Regions from separate parts of the Homo sapiens genome. Here all the other regions are linked to region 4. Evidence: promoter capture Hi-C in 16 types of primary human blood cells and fetal thymus (Javierre and others, 2016). All regions are on one chromosome and are shown on one strand. Each heading gives the region's core, a stretch centred on a gene start or on the middle of the fragment in contact. The rest is flanking DNA. Distances are from core to core; before and after follow the strand shown.

What was found. Contacts are between HindIII fragments. The CHiCAGO score rates a contact against its expected background, and 5 or more counts as called.
Region 1: a contact is called between a fragment that was not itself captured here and the fragment with the promoter of BDP1 in region 4, in 2 of 17 cell types (fetal thymus and total CD4 T cells). The highest score is 7.9, in fetal thymus.
Region 2: a contact is called between a fragment that was not itself captured here and the fragment with the promoter of BDP1 in region 4, in 2 of 17 cell types (naive CD4 T cells and total B cells). The highest score is 6.2, in naive CD4 T cells.
Region 3: a contact is called between a fragment that was not itself captured here and the fragment with the promoter of BDP1 in region 4, in 1 of 17 cell types (activated CD4 T cells). The highest score is 5.2, in activated CD4 T cells.
Region 5: a contact is called between a fragment that was not itself captured here and the fragment with the promoter of BDP1 in region 4, in 1 of 17 cell types (total B cells). The highest score is 6.1, in total B cells.
Region 6: a contact is called between a fragment that was not itself captured here and the fragment with the promoter of BDP1 in region 4, in 4 of 17 cell types (non-activated CD4 T cells, total B cells, total CD8 T cells and 1 more). The highest score is 10.7, in non-activated CD4 T cells.
Region 7: a fragment that was not itself captured here is called in contact with the fragment with the promoter of BDP1 in region 4 in 7 of 17 cell types (fetal thymus, naive CD4 T cells, total CD8 T cells and 4 more); the score reaches 10.8 in fetal thymus.

The regions. Positions count from the first base shown.
Region 1 is chr5:69,171,290-69,173,989 of GRCh38, reverse strand. It overlaps CCNB1 (cyclin B1), which reads right to left. Exons shown (of 9, transcript NM_031966.4): 4 at 2,538-2,700. Among named protein-coding and RNA genes, the nearest start is that of CCNB1, 5.5 kb to the right of the region's middle. The HindIII fragment of the contact is 5,956 bases long and covers 1-2,700 here.
Region 2 is chr5:69,107,188-69,109,942 of GRCh38, reverse strand. It overlaps SLC30A5 (solute carrier family 30 member 5), which reads right to left. Exons shown (of 16, transcript NM_022902.5): 5 at 1,507-1,594. Among named protein-coding and RNA genes, the nearest start is that of SLC30A5, 15 kb to the right of the region's middle. The HindIII fragment of the contact is 3,307 bases long and covers 1-2,755 here.
Region 3 is chr5:69,150,792-69,153,491 of GRCh38, reverse strand. No RefSeq gene overlaps it. Among named protein-coding and RNA genes, the nearest start is that of SNORA50D, 8.7 kb to the left of the region's middle. The HindIII fragment of the contact is 5,938 bases long and covers 1-2,700 here.
Region 4 is chr5:71,454,195-71,457,048 of GRCh38, reverse strand. BDP1 (BDP1 general transcription factor IIIB subunit) reads right to left here and starts at 1,398. Exons shown (of 39, transcript NM_018429.3): 1 at 960-1,398. The coding sequence starts at 1,171. RefSeq lists enhancers at 611-1,536, 1,537-2,463. The HindIII fragment of the contact is 8,261 bases long and covers 1-2,854 here.
Region 5 is chr5:69,089,974-69,092,794 of GRCh38, reverse strand. No RefSeq gene overlaps it. Among named protein-coding and RNA genes, the nearest start is that of SLC30A5, 2.6 kb to the left of the region's middle. The HindIII fragment of the contact is 6,134 bases long and covers 1-2,821 here.
Region 6 is chr5:69,191,596-69,194,295 of GRCh38, reverse strand. It overlaps CENPH (centromere protein H), which reads right to left. Exons shown (of 9, transcript NM_022909.4): 2 at 2,446-2,501. Among named protein-coding and RNA genes, the nearest start is that of CENPH, 3.4 kb to the right of the region's middle. The HindIII fragment of the contact is 5,618 bases long and covers 1-2,700 here.
Region 7 is chr5:69,031,078-69,033,822 of GRCh38, reverse strand. No RefSeq gene overlaps it. Among named protein-coding and RNA genes, the nearest start is that of LINC02198, 2.5 kb to the right of the region's middle. The HindIII fragment of the contact is 957 bases long and covers 871-1,827 here.

The DNA.
Region 1 (2,700 bases), core at 155-2,654, 2.3 Mb after region 4:
CGAGACCAGCCTGGCCAACATGGCAAAACCTGTCTTTACTAAAAATACAAAAATTAGCTGGGCATGGTTGCGCACACCTGTAGTTCCAGCTACTTGGGAGGCTGAGGCAGGAGAATTGCTTGAACCTGGCAGGTGGAGGTTGCAGGGAGCCGAGATTGCACCACTGCACTCCAGCCTGGGTGACAGAGTGAGACTGTCTCCCCACCCCAAAAAAAAAAGAAAAAAAAGGCAAACATTAGATAGGACAGTATGACAGCTTTTTTATATTGTCAGGTCTTACGATATTCTTCACCACAACTGCTGCTGGTCCACTCCCTTCCAAATAAAGATACTACATTATCATCTCAGATCTTTTCACTTAAGCCTCTAAACTTAGAACCTGAGCTTTATGTAGAGAAAATATCAGTAACTCCCAGGGCAGCTGGAACCCATGTACTACAACACTCCTGCCTGCTCCTGGGTTAAATCCCAACAGCAACATAGCTAAGAACTGTGGGGACAACAGTGACTTTATTTTAAATACTAATTCAATGTGACTTCTGCCTATTCACTTTAAGTTTGGCCTTTCCTCCAAAACAGCCCTTGATATTATTGTATACATTATAGGCTGTGATGTCTGCAGCATTCTGTCAGCCACCCACACATTGATTCTAGAGCATGTATACTTTGCCCAAGAAAATGTATACATACCCAAGCCGTGGGTACGAGGGGTTACAGTGCAGAGATCTACATCTTACAGCCATCAAAGACCATACTTATGTCTGTAAATTCCCCCTCATCAGTCACCCAATACCAGCAAACTCCATTTATCTGCCTAATTCCTTGGTTTCTCAGCTCCTCTGCCACTTGAGGGGTTGCTTTGCATAAATGGCCTTGCACAGAACAAGAACGAAGCATCAAGAAACAGCACATTTACAGGCTGGGCGCGGTGGCTCACACCTATAATCCCAGCACTTTGGGAGGCCAAGGCGGGTGGATCATGAGGTCAGGAGATTGAGACCATCCTGGCTAACACGGTGAAACCCCGTCTCTACTAAAAATATAAAAAATTAGCCAGGCGTGGTGGCGGATGCCTGTAGTCCCAGCTACTCAGGAGGCTGAGGCAGGAGAATGGCGTGAACCCGGGAGACAGAGCTTGCAGTGAGCCGAGATTGTGCCACTGCACACCAGCCTAGGTGACACAGCGAGACTCTGTCCCAAAAAAAAAAAAAAAAAAAAAAGAAACAGCACATTTACTAAATTGAATCCTCCAAAGTTAGAACACAACTTTAAAAAGCACTAGAAAGATGGAAGAAGAAACTAAAAGCAGAAGGCTGCTCCTGGCAAAGAAGTCTTGCAGAAGAATCCTATAGAAAAAGGAGAGGCCAAAAAGGAGCAGGCAAGAGATGAACATGTCAGTGATGACATAAGACAACACATTAGAAACAACTGGGGGCTGGGTGCGGTTGCTCAGGCCTGTAATCCCAGCACTTTGGGAGGCCGGGATGGGTAGATCATCTAAGGTCAGGAGTTCGAGACCAGCCTGGCCAATATGGTGATACCTCATCTCTACTAAAAGTACAAAAATTAGCTGGGTGTTGTGGTGGGCACCTGTAATCCCAGCTGCTCGGGATGCTGAGGCATGAGAATCACTTGACCCGAGGCGGAGGCTGGACTGAGCCGAGATTGCACCACTGCACTCCAGCCTGGGCAACAGAGCAAGACCCTGTCTCAAAAAAACCAAAACCAAATAAAAATACAAAAAATTAGCCAGGCATGGTGGTGTGTGCCTGCAACCCCAACTACTTGGGAGGCCGAGGCAGGAGAATTGCTTGAACCCAGGAGACAGAGACTGCAGTGAGCTGAGACCGCACCACTGCCCTCTAGCCTGGGCGACAGTGTGAGACTCCATCTCAAAAAAACAAAACAACAACAACAAAAAAACTACGTAAATGTGGTAACAGTATAATTTATGTTACTATGTTTATGCTGCCATAAAGAGTGCTTGTATTTGTAGGGAAAGGGCAAATGCCATTAATAGAAAGTTTCAAAAGTGGGATCAAATTGAAGTGAACCAAAAAAGTAGCTTTTGAGTGTACTCCTTTTGGGCACAAATAATTTCACCAACAACTGGATGCACATCAGCCACACTAACACAAAATGCCTTGTGTTAGGGGTGGCTGTAGTCTTTGAGTATATTCTACATCCTCATCCACTTCCTGACCCGTTATCACCTAAAATGCAGAGTTTGGGACTTAACCATTCCAAACGTGGTGGAGATCGCATATATACATATCAAATTCAATCTGTGGATTTTCCTTTAGAAAGCGATAGTAGTATCCACCCTAACTTCGAACTTTCCTGCACAAAGTGACAAATAGACTCCATTGGTTTATTTAGTGACTTTTTATTATAGGTATTCCATGAAGGAGAATTTGAAAGTGCGATCTCTTAAGAAATGCTGCCCACGTCCTGCTTGTATTATTATAAACTATTGATGGAAAATACTTTCATAAAGTTAGATGCAGTTTAGAAAAAAAACGAATGATAATACTTACCTCAAGTTGTCTCAGATAAGCATAAATATCTTTCACATATTCACTACAAAGGTTTGGATCAGCTCCATCTTCTGCATCCACATCATTTACTGCAAGAATTACATCAGAGAAAGCCTGACACAGGTCTTCTTCTGCAGGGGCACATCCAGATGTTTCCATTGGG
Region 2 (2,755 bases), core at 201-2,700, 2.3 Mb after region 4:
CAGGGCCGCAGCTGCTGACTCTTTACAGCACCCTCCTTAGGGTCTGTAAGCGGCCTGGTTCCCTAGCCCACTCCTTCACTAAATACCTGTGTCTGAGTGCATTTGTTGTTCAGCCAGGGTCTGCAAGTAGGACCCAGCAAGGAAGTGTTTAATTTGGTAAAACAGAAACACTATATAGTTCTAACAGTTTGGAATTGTAGATTGGTAACTCATTTAACAAAAGGATAATACTTGAATCACTTAGGATGAATAGGAGTGCTTAGGTGGCAAAATGTTGGATAAATGTTCATCATAATTTAAATTTAACAAGTTTTTAGTTATTTTTCAAAAATGATTTACAGGGTTAAGAATGAGTAGGGGGTTTGGGGGAAAGGTGCATGAGTACAACATGAAAGAGATCATTGTGGTGATGCATCAGTTCTATATCTTGCTTGTAATGATGGTTACACAAATCTACACATGACAAAATTTCATAGACCTACATGCATACATACATACATACACACACACACGATCGTATGTAAAATTGGTAAAATCTGAGTAAGGTCTATGGATTGCACCAATGTCAATTTCCTGTTTTTTTTTTTAATTTTTGATTTTAATTTTTGTGGGTACATAGTAGGTATATGTATTTATGGGGTATACGAGATGTTTTGATATAGGCATGCAATGTATATAATCACATCAGGTAAATTGGGGTATCCATCCCCTCGAGCATTTAGCCTTTGTGTTACAAATAATTCAATTATACTCTTTTAGTTATTTTAAATGTATGATTAAATTATTGTTGATTATAGTCACCCTATTGTGATATGAAATACTAGGTCTAATTGACTGGTTTTGATAGTGTACTTGAGTTGGTTAAGAAGTTACCTTTGGGGGAAACTAAATGAAGGGTGAGGGTCCTCTATGTACTATTTTAGCAACTTCCTAGGAATCTATAATCATTTCAAAATCATTTTCCACTGTTTCCATGTTAAGAAATTTCTCCAACTACGGATTATATTTTCACAAATATCTATTTTTGTAAACTTATAGAATTCTTCAAAAACAAAAAAATTGTAAGAAAAATGTAAAACTAGCGGAAAAAGCCCCTGGAATTTTTTTTTTTTTTTTTTTTTGAGGCTGAGTCTCACTCTATTGCCCAGGTTGGAGTGCAGTGGCATGATCTCAGCTCACTGTAACCTCCGCCTCCCAGGTTCAAGCAATTCTCATGCCTCAGCCTCCAGAGTAGCCGGGATTACAGGTGCCCACCACCATGCCCAGCTAATTTTTGTATTTTTAGTGGAGATGGAATTTCACCACGTTGGCTAGGCTGGTCTCAAGCTCCTGACCTCATGTAATCCGCCCACCTCAGCCTCCCACAGTGTTGGGATTACAGGCGTGAGCCATCGCGCTCAGCCTCCTGCATTCTTTTAAATGGTGAAAGATAAGATTTTATTCCTTTGGATAATATGTGACATACATACTTTCCATTTCCAAGTAACTGATAATGGAAAATTCTACCTTTGCTGGTCCTCCTCCAGAACTGGTGAACAAAACACTGAGTAGTGAAATGACAACAATATCACTGTGCTCAAATAGCAGCAAAGTCCTACAAAAATAAAACATTATCATTTATGAAATGTAATTTATCTTTATCAAGACGCATGAATTCAACTAGAGTTAGAGAAAGAAAAACATTTCCCCTTGATTTCACAAAACATAAGAAAAATAAATAGGTACAACTGCTTTAGAAAATGGTTTGGCATTATCTACCTTAGAAAGATTGAAGCTACAAATACCTAATCATACCACTCATAGAATTATGTCATACAGATTTCTTATTCTTGTATAGGTATGTATCAGGTAACACTTACCAGGTTGCTCATACCAGCACTGTTTGCAGTAATCCAAAAAAATACAGGCAATGTGGCTGGGTATGGTGGCTCACACCTATAATCCAGCACTTTGGGAGCCCAAGGCAGGGGGATCACGAGGTCAAAAGATCGAGACCACTCTGGCCAACATGGTGAAACCCCATCTCTACTAAAAATACAAAAATTGGCTGGGCGTGGTGGCACATGCCTGTAATCCCAGCTACTCGGGAGGCTGAGGCAGGAGAATCACTTGAACTCGGGAGGTGGAGGTTGCAGTAAGCCAAGATCGGGCCACTGCATGCCAGCCTGGTGACACAGTGAGACTCCATCTCAAAAAAAAAAAAAAAAAGTACAGGCAACATATACCCATGTGCTGCATAACATTATTTTGGTCAATGGTAGACCACATATATACGATGGTGGTGCCATAAGATTATAATGGAGCTGAGAAATTCCAGTCACCTAGTGTTAATGCATTACTCATGTGTTTCTGGTGATGCTGGTGTAAACAAGCCTACTGCACTGCCAGTCATATAATACAGTACATACAATTATATACAGAACATAAGACTTGATAATGATAATAAATGACTATGCTACTGGTTTATGTATTTACTATACTATAAATTATTTTAGAATGTACTTTTGCTTGTTAAAAATAAAAGTAACTATATCCTTTGACTTCAAATAGTGGTGTCAAAAACAAAAAAAAAGTTAACTGTAAAATAGCTTCAGACAGGTCCTTCAGGAGGTACCCCAGAAGAAGGCATTGTTATAGGAGATGACAATTCCTTGCATGTTACTGCCCCTGAAAACTTTCTAGTGGGACAAGATGTGGAGGTAGAAGACAGTAATATTGATAATCCTGACCCTGTGTAGGTATAGGCTAATGTGTG
Region 3 (2,700 bases), core at 170-2,669, 2.3 Mb after region 4:
ATTCCAGCCTGGGTGACAGAGTGAGACTCCCTCTCAAAAAAAAAAAAAAAAGAAAGAAAGAATTCTGCTGTATTTGGAACGCTTAGAGATATACAGGACCCAGCCAGGGCAACATAGTGAGACCTCATCTCTACAAAAAACTCTTTAAAAAATTAGCCTGGTGTGGAGGCATGCACCTGTGATGCTAGCTACTTGGGAAGCTGAGGCAGGAGGATCATTTGAGCTAAGGTGGTTGGGGCTGCAGTGAGCCATGATCACACCACTGTACTCCAGCCTGAGCGACAGAGTGAGACCCTGTCTCAAAAAAAAGATATACAAGAGGCGAGGTCTACTAGTCTACTAGACAGAGGTCAGGATGGGAGATATAATCCCTTTTTGCTGTAGAGGGCCTTTTATGCCTGACACAGATGAGATCATCTAGGGAAGGAACATACAGAAGAGTAGATGCCCAGAAGCAAGGTCTGGGCCTTCCATATTTAAAGATGGAGCGGAGGAAGAAAAGCCATCTAAGAATATTGGGCAAGAACACCAGAGAGGCAGGAGAACTGATTGTGGTATCTCAGAAAAGAGAAGTCAGTGTTTCACAGAGGGAGTAGTGATCTAACATGACAGACTAATACACACGTATCTTGGTTACTTCCTCAAGCTCTGCCAAAACAATGGTTTTTAAAAGATGCATGATGGCCAGGCACGGTGGCTCACACCTGTAATCCCAGAACTTTGGGAGGCTGTGGAGGATCACTTGAGCCCAAAGGTTTGAGACCTAGGCAACATAGTGAGACCCTGTTTCAAAAAAAAAATTAGCCGAGCATGGTGGTGGGCGCCTGTAGTCCCAGCTATTCAGGAGGCTGATGCGGGAGGATTACTTGAGCCTGGGAGGTTGAGGCTGCAGTGAGCTATGATCATGCCACTGTACCCCAGCCTGGGTGACAGAGTGAGACCCTGTCTCAAAAAAAAAAAACCGAAAAAACAAAAACAACAAAAAAGAATTGGTTGTTGATATTTTTAGCTGGATGAAAATATTTTTAAAATATAAAAAAGAATTTAAAAAAGAAAAGAATTGGTTGATTCCATCCTGCTCAGCTGAGTGCAGTAAGAGCACAACCTCTCCTTGGTCCTGGCAGACGACTAGAGGTTTATGTTCTGGAGTGGCTGAACTAAAGGGGTTCTGGATTTCAGGAGACCAGGCAAGCTGAGAGGGGCTTTAAGTAAAATTGTGCATACCAAATGGTAAGACCTCCAGTCGCCTTCTCCTACCCAGTCCCCAAAAGGCTGGCAGCTGGACTTATACCCTTCTAAGTGAAGTAAGAGAATGGTTTCTGGGGAATGGATCAGCCCAACAGAAAAAGTTCTAAAAATATTGATGGTTAGGAAAGGTCCCCATGAAATGACTGGGCCACCGCTTGGTTACCCTTATACTGAAGCTCACCACTTGACATGCTTGCACACTGACACAGAGCTTCTAATACATATATATGGAGAGAGAGAGAGAGAGAGAGAGAGAGGATCTTGCTATACTGCCCAGGTTAGTCTTAAACTCCTGGGTTTAAGTGATGCTCCTGTCTTAGCCTCCTGAATAGCTGGGATTACAGGCATGAGTTACTATGCTTGGCCTAATCTATATGTATGTATATCTTAGCCTCTCAAATAGCTGGGATTACAGGCACAAGTCAGTATACCTGGCCTAATCTATATATACAGATATATATAGATCTACAGCATTACTGGGCTTGGGGTGTCCCCTGGAGAGATAAAGAGAGAGAGGCAGACAGAGTCTCACTCTCTGGCCCAAGCTAGAGTGCAGAGGTGCGAACATGGCTTCTTTGCAGCCTCGACCTGCCGGTCTCAAGCCATCCTCTCACCTCAGCCCCCCAAGTAGCTTGGACTACAGGCAAGCACTACCACACCCCACTCATTTTTGTATTTTTTGTAGAGATGGTGTTTCACCATGTTGCCCAGGCTGGTCTCAAATTCCTGAGCTCAAGTGATCTACCTGCCTTGGCCTCCCAAAGTGCTGAGATTACAGGTGTGAGCCACTATGCCTGGCCAATATGTGTGTTTTTTTTTTTTTTGAGATGGAGTCTTGCTCTGTTGCCTAGGCTGGAGTGCAGTGGGCACAATCTCAGCTCACTGCAAGCTCTGCCTTCCGGGTTCATGCCATTCTCCTGCCTCAGCCTCCCAAGTAGCTGGGACTACAGGCTCCCGCCACCACGCCCAGCTAATTTTTTTGTATTTTTAGTGGAGATGGGGTTTCACTGTGTTAGCCAGGATAGTCTCCATCTCCTGACCTCATGATCCCATGATCTGCCCACCTCAGCCTCCCAAAGTGCTGGGATTACAGGTGTGAGCCTGGCCTGTTTTTTTTTTTTTTTTTTTTAGACAGGGTCTTACTCTATCACACAGGCTGGAGTGCAGTGGTACAGTCATGGCTCACTGCAGCCTTGACCTCCTGGGCTCAAGCAGTCCTCCCATCTCAGCCTCCCAAGTAGGTGGGACTATAGGCGTGAGTCACCACATCTAACTTTTTAATTTTTTGTAGAGATGAGTTCTCAATATGTTTCCCAGGCTGCTTTGGAACTCTTAGGTTCAAGCAATCCTGCCTCAGCTTCCCGATGTGCTGGGGTTACAGGTGTGAACCACCATACCCAGCCTTAATCAATATATTATTATTTTTTGAGACCGAGTCTCACTCTGTTGACC
Region 4 (2,854 bases), core at 149-2,648:
TGTAATAAACTTGGAAATTACTAACCATCACTGAACTATCAACGTAACACCATACACTCAGCACCAGTTCAGGCCAATAGAGGAAGATGTTCCAAAAATAAATAAATGTTTCACCTTCCTATCACAGCATAAACAGAATTTGTACTATCTCACTTCACTTAACAAGGCTGTTTACTGATTTCCTCATATATATAGAAACAGAGACCATCTTAGCCTAACATGTCTTAAATTTACTCCATCACCTTTCTAAAAAACTAGTAACTTTTTGCGGGCAACTATTCTGCTATATCCCCTGCAAGGTAGTTAATATGAATTATCTCCAATCTGCACCAAAACGCTCCAAGTAGGCAATATTATTCCCATTTTGCAGATGAGCAAATTCTGCCTGAGAAAAGTTTACCTGTAGACTAAAAGAGTCCTGAATCCAAATATGATACATGACGCTAAAGCCATGCTTCTCTATTCAGGAAACACGGTCACCATAGTTAAAGAGGCACACTTCAATTAAGTGACCAGAACTCTTACTCACTGACATAAATCGGTAAAGCCAAAGCAATACTTATCTTCTCCTTTAAAAAATAAATATTTTATAAATTGAAAGACAAAAACACTTCCCTGCAAAGCACTCCAGAAGGATGAAAACTATAGTGACCTAAATTCTCAAATGAATAGTGTGGATATTCTTCACTTCAGGACTGCCATACCCCGATTCTCCCTACCACCACTTGAAGACATGGTCTCCTCTCGGAGAATCTATAGACCGTGACAAAATCCACACAAGCCACACCCTGCAGGTCAGACAACTAAACTGCAGTTTGGAGTGGTTTCATCAAGCCTCAACTGAAAGGCTTACTGCAAACGAGAGCGGACTCCTGTGATAAAATTCATTTGCTCAGCTTCCAGGTGACATGCCCGGAGAGGCGGGACAAATGAAAATTCTTCCCTCTGCAACCTCTTACCTGCTCCTAGGAGCCTTTTCTTGGGGCTCCGCTCCACCGAAATCGACTGTGGGCACATCTGTGGGCTCCGCGGGCTTGGAAGCAGAGTCCGTGGCAGGATCCGGCGGCCTGGGAGACTCCCGTCCACGCTGGGGATTGGAAGCTGTGGAGCCCCTGGCGCCTACACCAGGCCTGACATTCGGCTTCACGCTAAGGCGTGCCCTGCGGAACATGGCGGAGGCAGGGGGCCCGGGGAGGCAGCCTCACGGCCGCTCACAGCCCCGAGCCCCGGCGGCTGCCCGGAAAGGGGATTAGGAACTACGCCCTCCCCACAAAGCCACACCACCAGCTCAGGGGGCAGCTACCGTAGTTTCACTGCCCCGCCGCCGCCTCCTCCTCTCTCCCGCCGCCGCCGCTTTTTCATGACCCTGCCACACACCGATGGCTAAATTTCACCCTCCTCCCAGCATCCCCGCGCTCACAGGACGCCGCAACTGATTGCGCCATCAGCCAGCGCCGCAGAATGACGTCAGACGCACAGCACTGGGAGCCATGGTAACTACCAAGCTACTGAGACTGGGTTACCTGCGGACCAGAAATTGAGATGCAGAGATATTTGCTCTTTCTTCTCCAGGAGTCCTTAGGAGTAGTTGAAAAGAGGAACAGAAGAAAGTCCACTTCTCTGCTCAAACCTTTACTGGAACTATTAAAATCGCTGGCCGATTTTGTCTTTTGAAGATCCTGAAGGGTTTAGAAATTCTAAATTGAGTAGACATAGATTAAAAATGCTGGTGTGAAGAAACTGATAATAGTTACCTCCCAGGAGAGGAATGTGTTTCTGGAAAACACGTCGTGGTAGGAAGACCATTTACCGTACGCCTTTGTGTACTTTTTTGTTTTTGTCCTTTGAGACAGGGTCTTGCTCTGTCGCCTAGGCTGGAGTGTGCAGTTGCGCGATCTTGGCTCACTGCAGCCTCCACCTCTCGGGCTCAGGCGATCCTCCCGTCACAGCCTCCCAAGTTGCTGGGACCACAGGCACGCGCCACGACACCCGGCTAATTTTTTTTTTCTCGTATATTTAGTAGAGACGGGGTTCATCATGTTGCTTAGGCTGATCTTGAACTCCTAGGCTCAAGCGAGCCACCCATTTGGCCTCCCAAAGTGCTGGGATTACAGACGTGAGCCACCACGCCCAACCTCCTTGTGTACTTTTTAATATGAATGTATCACCCGAGATCGTACCACTACACTCCAGCCTGTTTAAAAATTATTATAGTTGAAACCTTGTAAATTATTGTGAGTGTTCTTAATCTGCTTCAGGAGGTAGCAGTAAACAAGACGTTCTGGATTTGGGAGGAGAAAATACAAAAAAGAAATGAACAAGATATTTTTAAAATGTATCAGGCCCGGCGTGGGTGCCTCATGCCTGTAATCCCAGCATTTTAGGAGGCTAAGGCAAGGCAGATTGCTTGAGGTCAGGAGTTCGAGACCAGCCTGGCCAACATGGTTAAACTCCATCTCTACTAAAAATACAAAAATGAGCCAGGCCTGGTGGTGCAAGCCTGTAATCCCAGCTATGGGAGGCTGAGACAGGAGAATGGCTTGAACCCTGGAGGTGGAGGCTGCCGGGAGCCAAGATGGCACCACTGCACTCTAGCCTAGGCAACAGAATGAGTGAGACTCTGTCTTAAAATAAATGAATTAATTAATTAATTGCAATAAAATAAAGTATATCAAATGTCATGAAATAAATTTAAGGGTTGAATGCCGGGTATGGCGAGGCACGCCTATAATCCCAGCTACTGTGGAGACTGAAGTGGGAGGATCTCTTGAGCCCAAGACTTCCAGACCAACCTGCTCAAAATATTGAGACCCCTAAAACAAATTACCTACATGCGGTGGCTGTGATGGCTCCC
Region 5 (2,821 bases), core at 69-2,568, 2.4 Mb after region 4:
CTGGGGTCATCTATCAAATAAAGTAACGGAGGAAGGTGACTGCTTTTGTGGCTTTTTGTGTGGGGCCTGGAGTACTGGTAACCGTTGTTGCTAGAGGCCCTGGAATCCAACTGTGTGAGGACAGAACATAGGAGAAGGAAGAGGATTTTGTTAAGTGTTGCTGCAAACTGTTTTGTCTCCTTTTTGAAAAGGAAAGCGTTGATTTTCTTTAAATTCTGCCTGTGAAACTGTGTAATCCAGGCACATCTGTAAAAACAGGTCAGGTAGTGTTACCTGAAAAGGGGGTCCCCATCCAGACCCCAGGAGAGCTTGGATCTCACGCAAGAAAGAATTCGAGGCAAGTCCATACAGTAAAGTGAAAGCAAGTTTATTAAAAAAGTAAAGGAATAAAAGAATGGCTACTCCATAGGCAGAGGGCACAGTGGCTCATGCCTGTAATCCCAGCAGTTGGGAGGCTGAGGCGGGTGGATCACCTGAGGTCAGGAGTTTGAGACCAGCCTGACCAACATGGCGAAACCCTGTCTCTACTAAAAATACAAAATTAGTCGGGTGGGGTGGTGCATGCCTGTACTCCCAGCTACTCGGGAGGCTGAGGAGGAGAATGGCTTGAACCCGGAGATGGAGGTTGCAGTGAGCCAAGATCGCGCCATTGCACTCCAGCCTGGGCAACAAGAGTGAAACTCCGTCTCAAAAAAAAAAAAATAATAATAGTAATAAGAATGCCCAACCTCCTGGGAATGCAGCCGAGTAAGTCTCCCCCTTGTTTTACCCAGCCCCTATTCAAGATGGAGGCACTCTGGGTCAAACGCCTCTGACAAGTAGGACTGGGTATTATAAAGGTTATTTTTCTGTTGCTAAAAATTTAGGAATGTGGGTTCCTGTGTCAGTCTTGGTTTGAATCCCAACTCTGCCACTTAGTAATTGTGGGATCTTGGGTCAGTTAGTTGGCCTTTCTGCGCCACAGTTTTTTTTTTATATGCAAAGTAGGAATAGTAATATTTATATTGTAGGGTTGTTGGGAGGATTATACATGTGTTAATAAGTGAAAAGTCTCTAGAACTTGCTAGGTTTTGAAGGGAACAGGAGGGTTAAAGAAAGACACACACACACACACACACACACACACACACACACACACACACACACAGAAAGAGGGCGGCTCGACAGTAAATGCAGGCTTTATGTCCAGCATAAAACCTACAGATGTGGGGGACCAGCTTAATGCCAGAGCCCACCACTGCTTATAGGCTGGGGGTATTTATAGGTATGGGCGGTAAGGGTCTGGGCAGTATGGCTTGCTGCCTGGCAGGATATTGATAAGATGTTCCTGTGATGAGGCAGTTCTGGCCCTTGTTCTGGCAGATGTCATCATGGTATTCCTTGGAACTTTGCCCAGCAAGATATGATAGGGATGTTTCTTTATTTGGGCCTTTGTCTGCCTTGTGGTCAAGTGGTTAGACAGGATGTTTCTTACAGCCCCGAACCCCTGTGAAATGTTTCACTTTGACCAAGGTCTGCAAAATTAGTGGGGAGCTTACAAAATGGTGCAGTTTGGACTAACAGAACTGTTGTCAGAGGCGTTTGAACCGGGGCAACTCCATCTTGAATAGGAGCTGGGTAAAATAAGGCTGAGACCTACTGGGCTGTATTCCCAGACAGTTAAGACATTCTAAGAGATGTCTATGGGGGTAGCCATTCTTTATTCTTTATTCCTTTACTTTCCTAATAAACTTGCTTTCACTTTATGGACTTGCCCTGAATTTTTTTTTTATTTGGACACGGAGTTTTGCTCTTGTTGCCCAGGCTGGAGTGCAATGGCATGATCTCGGCTCACTGCAACCTCCACCTCCCAGGTTCAAGCGATTCTCCTACCTCAGCCTCCCCAGTAGCTGGGACTACAGGCATGCGCCACCACACCCAGCTAATTTTGTATTTTTAGTAGAGACAGGGTTTCTCCATGTTGGTCAGGCTGGTCTCGAACTCCTGATCTTGGGTGATCCACCTGCCTCGGCCTCCCAAAGTGCTGGGATTACAGGCGTGAGCCACCAAGCCTGGCCCTGAATTCTTTCTTTCATGAGCTCCAAGAACCCTGTCTTGAGGTCTGGATCTGGACCCCTTTCCTGTAGCACTATGAATAGTATAAAATGTCACTCAATAGATGTTAAATATTATTATTACTCTGGGAAATTTGGGGATGATTTGGAGATGAAAATCGGGTTTTGAGCAGTATAAATTATAATTAATTTACAATACTCTAATTTGAATACACACAAAGACCTTTAGTAGCATAAAAAAAAACGAGGTATCACAGTCTGTCTACTGGAACTTTATTGTTGAAACCACCTTTGCAAAATTATAACAGTGAGAAAATTATGGCAAAAGAGATCTGATCTAATCAAACCCTGTCTTGCCTTTAGCTTTCAAACTGCCCTTAATCATTCTTGGGCTTGGGCCAAGCTAACTTTGGGAGACATTTATAGTTTAAATGATAATGGCCCTTCCCCCAAACTCAATTACCTTTGTAAAGCTATTGAGAGACCATCAGGCTAGGAGAATGAGAGGAGCCTGAATTCTGCTAAGGCGTAGACATCAAGGAGCGCTAGACAGTATTCCAGAGGTCACAACTTACCTAATTACTCCTGCAGATAACATCACTCTTGTAGAACCTAAGATTGGCCTTTTGAGACATCTTTTCAGTTTTTTTTCTGTTTTTTTTTTTTTTTTTTTTTTTTTGTGTGGCATATCTGAAGACTGATGGGTCCAGATGGACCATAGCTCCACCTGGATCCAACTACCACTTCTGTGGCCCCACCCAGAAGTC
Region 6 (2,700 bases), core at 80-2,579, 2.3 Mb after region 4:
TCCCAGCTACTCGGGAGGCTGAGGTGGGAGGATCGCTTGAGCCCACGAGGTTGGGGTTGCAGTGAGCCAAAATCTTGCTACTGCACTCCAGCCTGGGTGGCTGAGTGAGATCATCTCAAAAAAAAAAACATCAACCAACAAAGACAATGTGGCACTTGTGTAGGGATCAACAAATACCTCAATGGTACAGAAAAAAGCCTAGAACTTCCTGTGATGATGGAAATGTTTCCTATCTATGCTATCCCATAGGATAGCCACTGGCCACATGTGGCAACTGAGCATTTGATATGTACTTGATTTTAAATTTTATTTCATTTTAATTAGCTTTAAAAAGCCACGTGTGGCCAGGGGTGTGATGGCTCATGCCTGTAATCCCAGTACTTTGGGAGGCCGAGGCAGGTGGATCACCTGAGGTCAGGAGTTAAGAGACCAGCCTGGCCAACATGGTGAAACCCGTCTCTACTAAAAATACAAAAATTAGCCGGCCATGGTGGCAGGTGCCTGTAATCCTGGCTACTTGAGAGGCTGAGGCAGTGAATCCGGGAGGCGGAGGTTGCAGTGAGCTAAGATTGCGCCGCTGCACTCTAGCCTGGGCGACAGAACAAGACCCCGTCTCAAAAAAAAAAAAAAAACAGAAAAAACAAAAAAAGAAAATGTTCTGTATCTTTTTTTGGGGGAGACAGGGTCTCCTGTCACTGTCACCCAGGCTGTAGTGTAGTGGTGTGATCTCGGCTCACTGCAGCCTTGATATCCCAGGCTTAAGTAATCCTCCCACCTCAGCTGGGTGGGACTACAGGCACATGGTACCACATCTGGCCAATTGTTTTTTTTAGAGGTGGGGGTCTCGCTATGTTTCCCAGGCTGGTTGCCCTGGGCTCAAGCAATCCTCTCGCCTTGGCCCCTCAAAGTGCTGGGATTACAGATTGATCCACCATGCTCAGCCGAAAATGTTCTGTATCTTGATTGTGGTAGTGATTATACAGATTTAGAAATTTGTCAAAACTCATCAAATTGTACCCTTAAAATAGATGCCTTTATTGTAAAAAACAATCCTTTAACCAATAAAGTCTCAGTCACATATATATACATATACATATATATACATATATACACATACACACACATATATATACATATATATACATATACGTATATGTGTGTGTGTATATATATATATATTTTGTTTGTTTTTGTTTTTGAGACGGAGTTTTGCTCTTGTTGCCCAGGCCAGAGTGCAATGGCGTGATCTCGCGTCACTGCAACCTCCACCTCCCAGGTTCAAGCGATTCTCCTGCCTCAGCCTCCCCGAGTAGCTGAGCTTATAGGCATGCACCACCACGCCCAGCTAATTTTGTATTTTTAGTAGAGACGGGGTTTCTCTACGTTGGTCAGGCTGGTCTCGAACTCCTGACCTCAGGTGATCCGCCCACCTCGGCCTCCCAAAGTGCCGGGATTACAGGTGTGAGCTACCAAGCCCAGCCATATATATATTTTTTAAATGGTAAAAGAATCAATACTTATTTCTCTGTTGATTGCCTGACAGTCTCACTCTGTTGCCCAGTGGAGTGGAGTACAGTACAATCACTCAATCACTTGAGCCCAGGAGTTGGATGTTGTAGTGAGTCCCAGCTGGGACTATAGGTATGTATCACCATATCTGGCTACGTTTTTTTTATTTTTGTAGGGACGAGGTCTCACTTTGTTTCCCAGGCTAATCTCAAACTCTTAGCTTCAAGTGATCTTCTTGTCTTGGCCTCTAAAAGAGCAGATAGTCAATTTTAGATAAACATCTTCTTTCAAAGGCTACAACTAAACTTCCTGTGGCCTGCCTTACATCTGTCGTCTCCTAGGTATAGAAATTCTACAGTGTTAACTAAATCTAGTTTTTGGATGTCACAATCCCTTAAAAATGGTACTAGCTATATAGAGAACAAAAAGACTATTGGAACGTAAACTTTCTTCTCATTTGGATCTGAGCTCTAAAATCATCTTCTTAGAGAAGCCATCCCTATGAAAAGAAGCCCCTCCCTCTTATCATGCCTTTGTTTCCTTCAGCACACTTAGCATACTTCATAAATATCTTGCATGTTTACCAGTTTTGCCACACTATAACATATATAAACAATTTTTGGTAAAGTTAATTTTATTTTCACTCGAGTACTGTTAATCATCAAACTCACAAAATCTTATTTGAGGCCAGGTGTGGTGGCAAAACCCTGTGTCTACAAAAAAAATACAGAAAATTAGACGGGCGCAGTAGCATGTGCCTGTGGTCCCAGTTACTTGGGAGGCTGAGGTGGGAGGATTGCTGGAGCCCAGGAGGCTGAGGCTGCAGTAAACCAGAGACTGCGCCACTACATTACAGCCTGGGTGATAGCAAGACCCTGTCTCAAAAAAACAAACAAACAAACAACAAAACCCTAATTTGAAAATGAAAATACTTACTTGCATCAACCATTGATTTATATTCTAAGAGTTGTTGTTTTGTCTGTGCTCTCAGCCTGAAAACAGATAAAGAGAATATAAAGTCACATATTTATTGATTAAGGTTTTACTCATTACCACATGACGAACCAACTCATTCTTTTTCGGAAGCTGATACAACAAAATAAATATAAATAATTAAACTCCTAATTACAAACTTCTAATTTGGCCTCATTTTATTTAAAATGGGTATAAAGAACTTTAAGGCCTCAGAGG
Region 7 (2,745 bases), core at 100-2,599, 2.4 Mb after region 4:
GTAAGTGCTGATTTCAGTATTGGGGAAGTGGAATTTAAACTGTGGGAAGTTCTTAAACATAGGAAAGCTTTTCAAAAGGTGCGGGGCAGCCTGAAACAAATACCTTTGGCAAATACTATACTGTGGGGTGAAACTGCTTTTTTAAAAAAAATTTTAATTTTTTTTTTTTTTTTTTTTTGAGATGGAGTCTTGCTCTGTCTCCCAGGCTGGAGTGCAGTGGCAATCTCGGCTCACTGCAACCTCTGCCTCCTGTGTTCAAGTGATCTTCCCACCTCAGCCTCCTGAGTAGCTGGGATGACAGGCATGTGCCACCACATCTGGCTAATTTTGTTTTGTTTTGTTTTGTTTTGTATTTTCAGTAGAGGCATGGTTTCACCATGTTGGCCAGGCTGGTCTCGAACTCCAGACCTCAACCAATCTGCCTGCCTGGGCCTTCCAAAGTGCTGGGATTACAGGTGTGAGCCACCGCGTCCAGCCAAAACTGCTTTTCAGTGTGTGGGCAGATAGGACATTGTTTCTCTTCCCTTTAGGTGTTTATACTGTGCTGTCCCTGGGGATTAATGTTTGTCATTAGGAGGGGTGTGTGACGGAGCAAGAGATCTAGCAGTTTCCTAGCAGAATGAAGAGGCCCATCTACTCCTCTTACTAGCAGGGAGGCAAGTGATGAGGCCCAGAGATTTGAGGGTCCAAGTTAAGCATTTGCAGGTCCTTGTTTTTCTTCAGTTTAGAATGGAGATTGGTCCATTGCTCAATCCTTGATCTGATGCTCTGAGGCTGGGGCTGTGGGGATTAAGAGATGCAGGGGCTAAAAGCCAGCTGAGTCTTCACAGTTTGTCAAATATAAAGATAAATTGTTTTGAGAATAAAGCTTTATCCTAAAAAGAAAGCAAATCACTAAAGTTTTGTAGCTCATGAGGTTAGAGAAAGGGTCCTTAGCAACTAGTTAGATACTTAAAATGTGGCAAGGTGGTACAGGTAATTGCATTTAGATGTGTAAAAATTAGATTTGTAAGTTTCCAGAGAGGAACTATTGGAAATGGCTCTGTTGGAGATGGGCTAAATTAATTATGGTAAATCCATTTAATGGAATAGTATGTGGCTGTTAAAAGAATGCAATAGTTAAAAGAATACAATAATATTGGGGCTGTTAAAAGAATGCAACAGTTAAAAGAATACAACAATTCCAATGTACAGATATGGAATTCTTTCCAAGAAATTAATAAATAAAAAAAGCAAGGTAAGAAACAGTGAGTAAGTGTCTTAGGCTGAGATCTCTGGAAGCAAAGACTGAGACAGGGATTCTTGTGTTTTTAGGAGAGGTTGCTCCCAGGAGATGGGGTGGGAACAGCATAGAGTAGTGGATAAAAGGTAAGCAAGAGATGATCTCAGTGGATATCAGTGTTAGCCTGATCCCACAGGGAGTTCTGGAGCATGAATTGCACCATAAAGCTGTCCAACCTTTTATACCCCTGTGCTGGCTACAATGTGCCGCAGGATGGAGAATTCTCTATAGAAGGGGGCAACTGTGAACCATTAGCTGCTAACACTCATAGCAGCCAAGAGATGGGTGCACTGGCTTCTTCAGGGGATCTAGGCCGAGCTACAGCAGCACCCCCTGCAGATGGCGTACTGCAGGAAGGATACTGTACTATATATGCTTGTACATGCATGGGAATCTAAGAGTAGATGCTCTTATCCTGGAGTCCATGGATCCCTAAGGGATTCACAGATAGAACAGTATTACAGGCAAATTGGTTTCTTTTGTAATCCTCTGCACTTTAGCTTACATATTTTCAAACATTGTTCTGAGAGGGGGATCCATAAGCTTTATCAGATACTGAAGTGGTCTGTGGTACACACACAAAAATGAAGAGAACAAGAAAGTGGTAACAGTGTTTGCCTTGGGTGGGGGATGAATTCTAGGGGTCTGGAGTCAGGAGTGGGAAAGAGATTCCTATTCTTTGTATATCCTTTTGTGCTATTGGGATTTTTGCTGTGTGCATGGATTACATTCTAAAAAGATTAAAACATAAGAAAATGTATTTTTAAAAACTACCTCCCCACATTTTTTTTTTTAAAGAGACAGAATCTTGCTCTGTCACCCAGGCTGGAGTGCAGTGGTGTGATCGTGGCTCACTGCAGCCTTGAACTCCTGGGCTCAAGCCATCCTCCTGCCTCAGCCTCCTGAGTAGCTGGGACCACAGGTGTGTGCCACCACATCTGGCTAATTTTTAAATTTTTTGTAGAGATGGGGTTTCACTATGTTGTCCAGGCTGGTCTTGAACTCCTGGCCTTAAGCGATTGTCTTGCCTCAGTTTCCTAAAATGTTGGGATTACAACTATGAGCCACTGTACCCAACCCTATTTTTCCTGGATTTTCTCTTCACTCTTACTTCCTACGTTGCCTTTTCTGTTTTATACAATTTCTGCAATTGCTTGTCTTCCTCTTCCTAAAGTCTCTTCCTATCTCTAATGCTTGCATTTGATTTTAAAGCTGTTCTGGCACACTTGAATAGAATCCTGCATAATAATCTTTCACTAATTTTTCCCCCGACTCCTTATCAAATGTTCACTAAAGTGTATAGTTATTTCTTAGCATATATGCACATACTTGCAAAATAGACCACTATAATCTGCACAATTCTTCTTAAATTCAGCTTTTAAAACATGCCTTTAAATGAAGAAAATATTTGTATAATGAGAATAAATTTTGAAGGTTGTTTCACATTCAAGATTCTTTGAGGT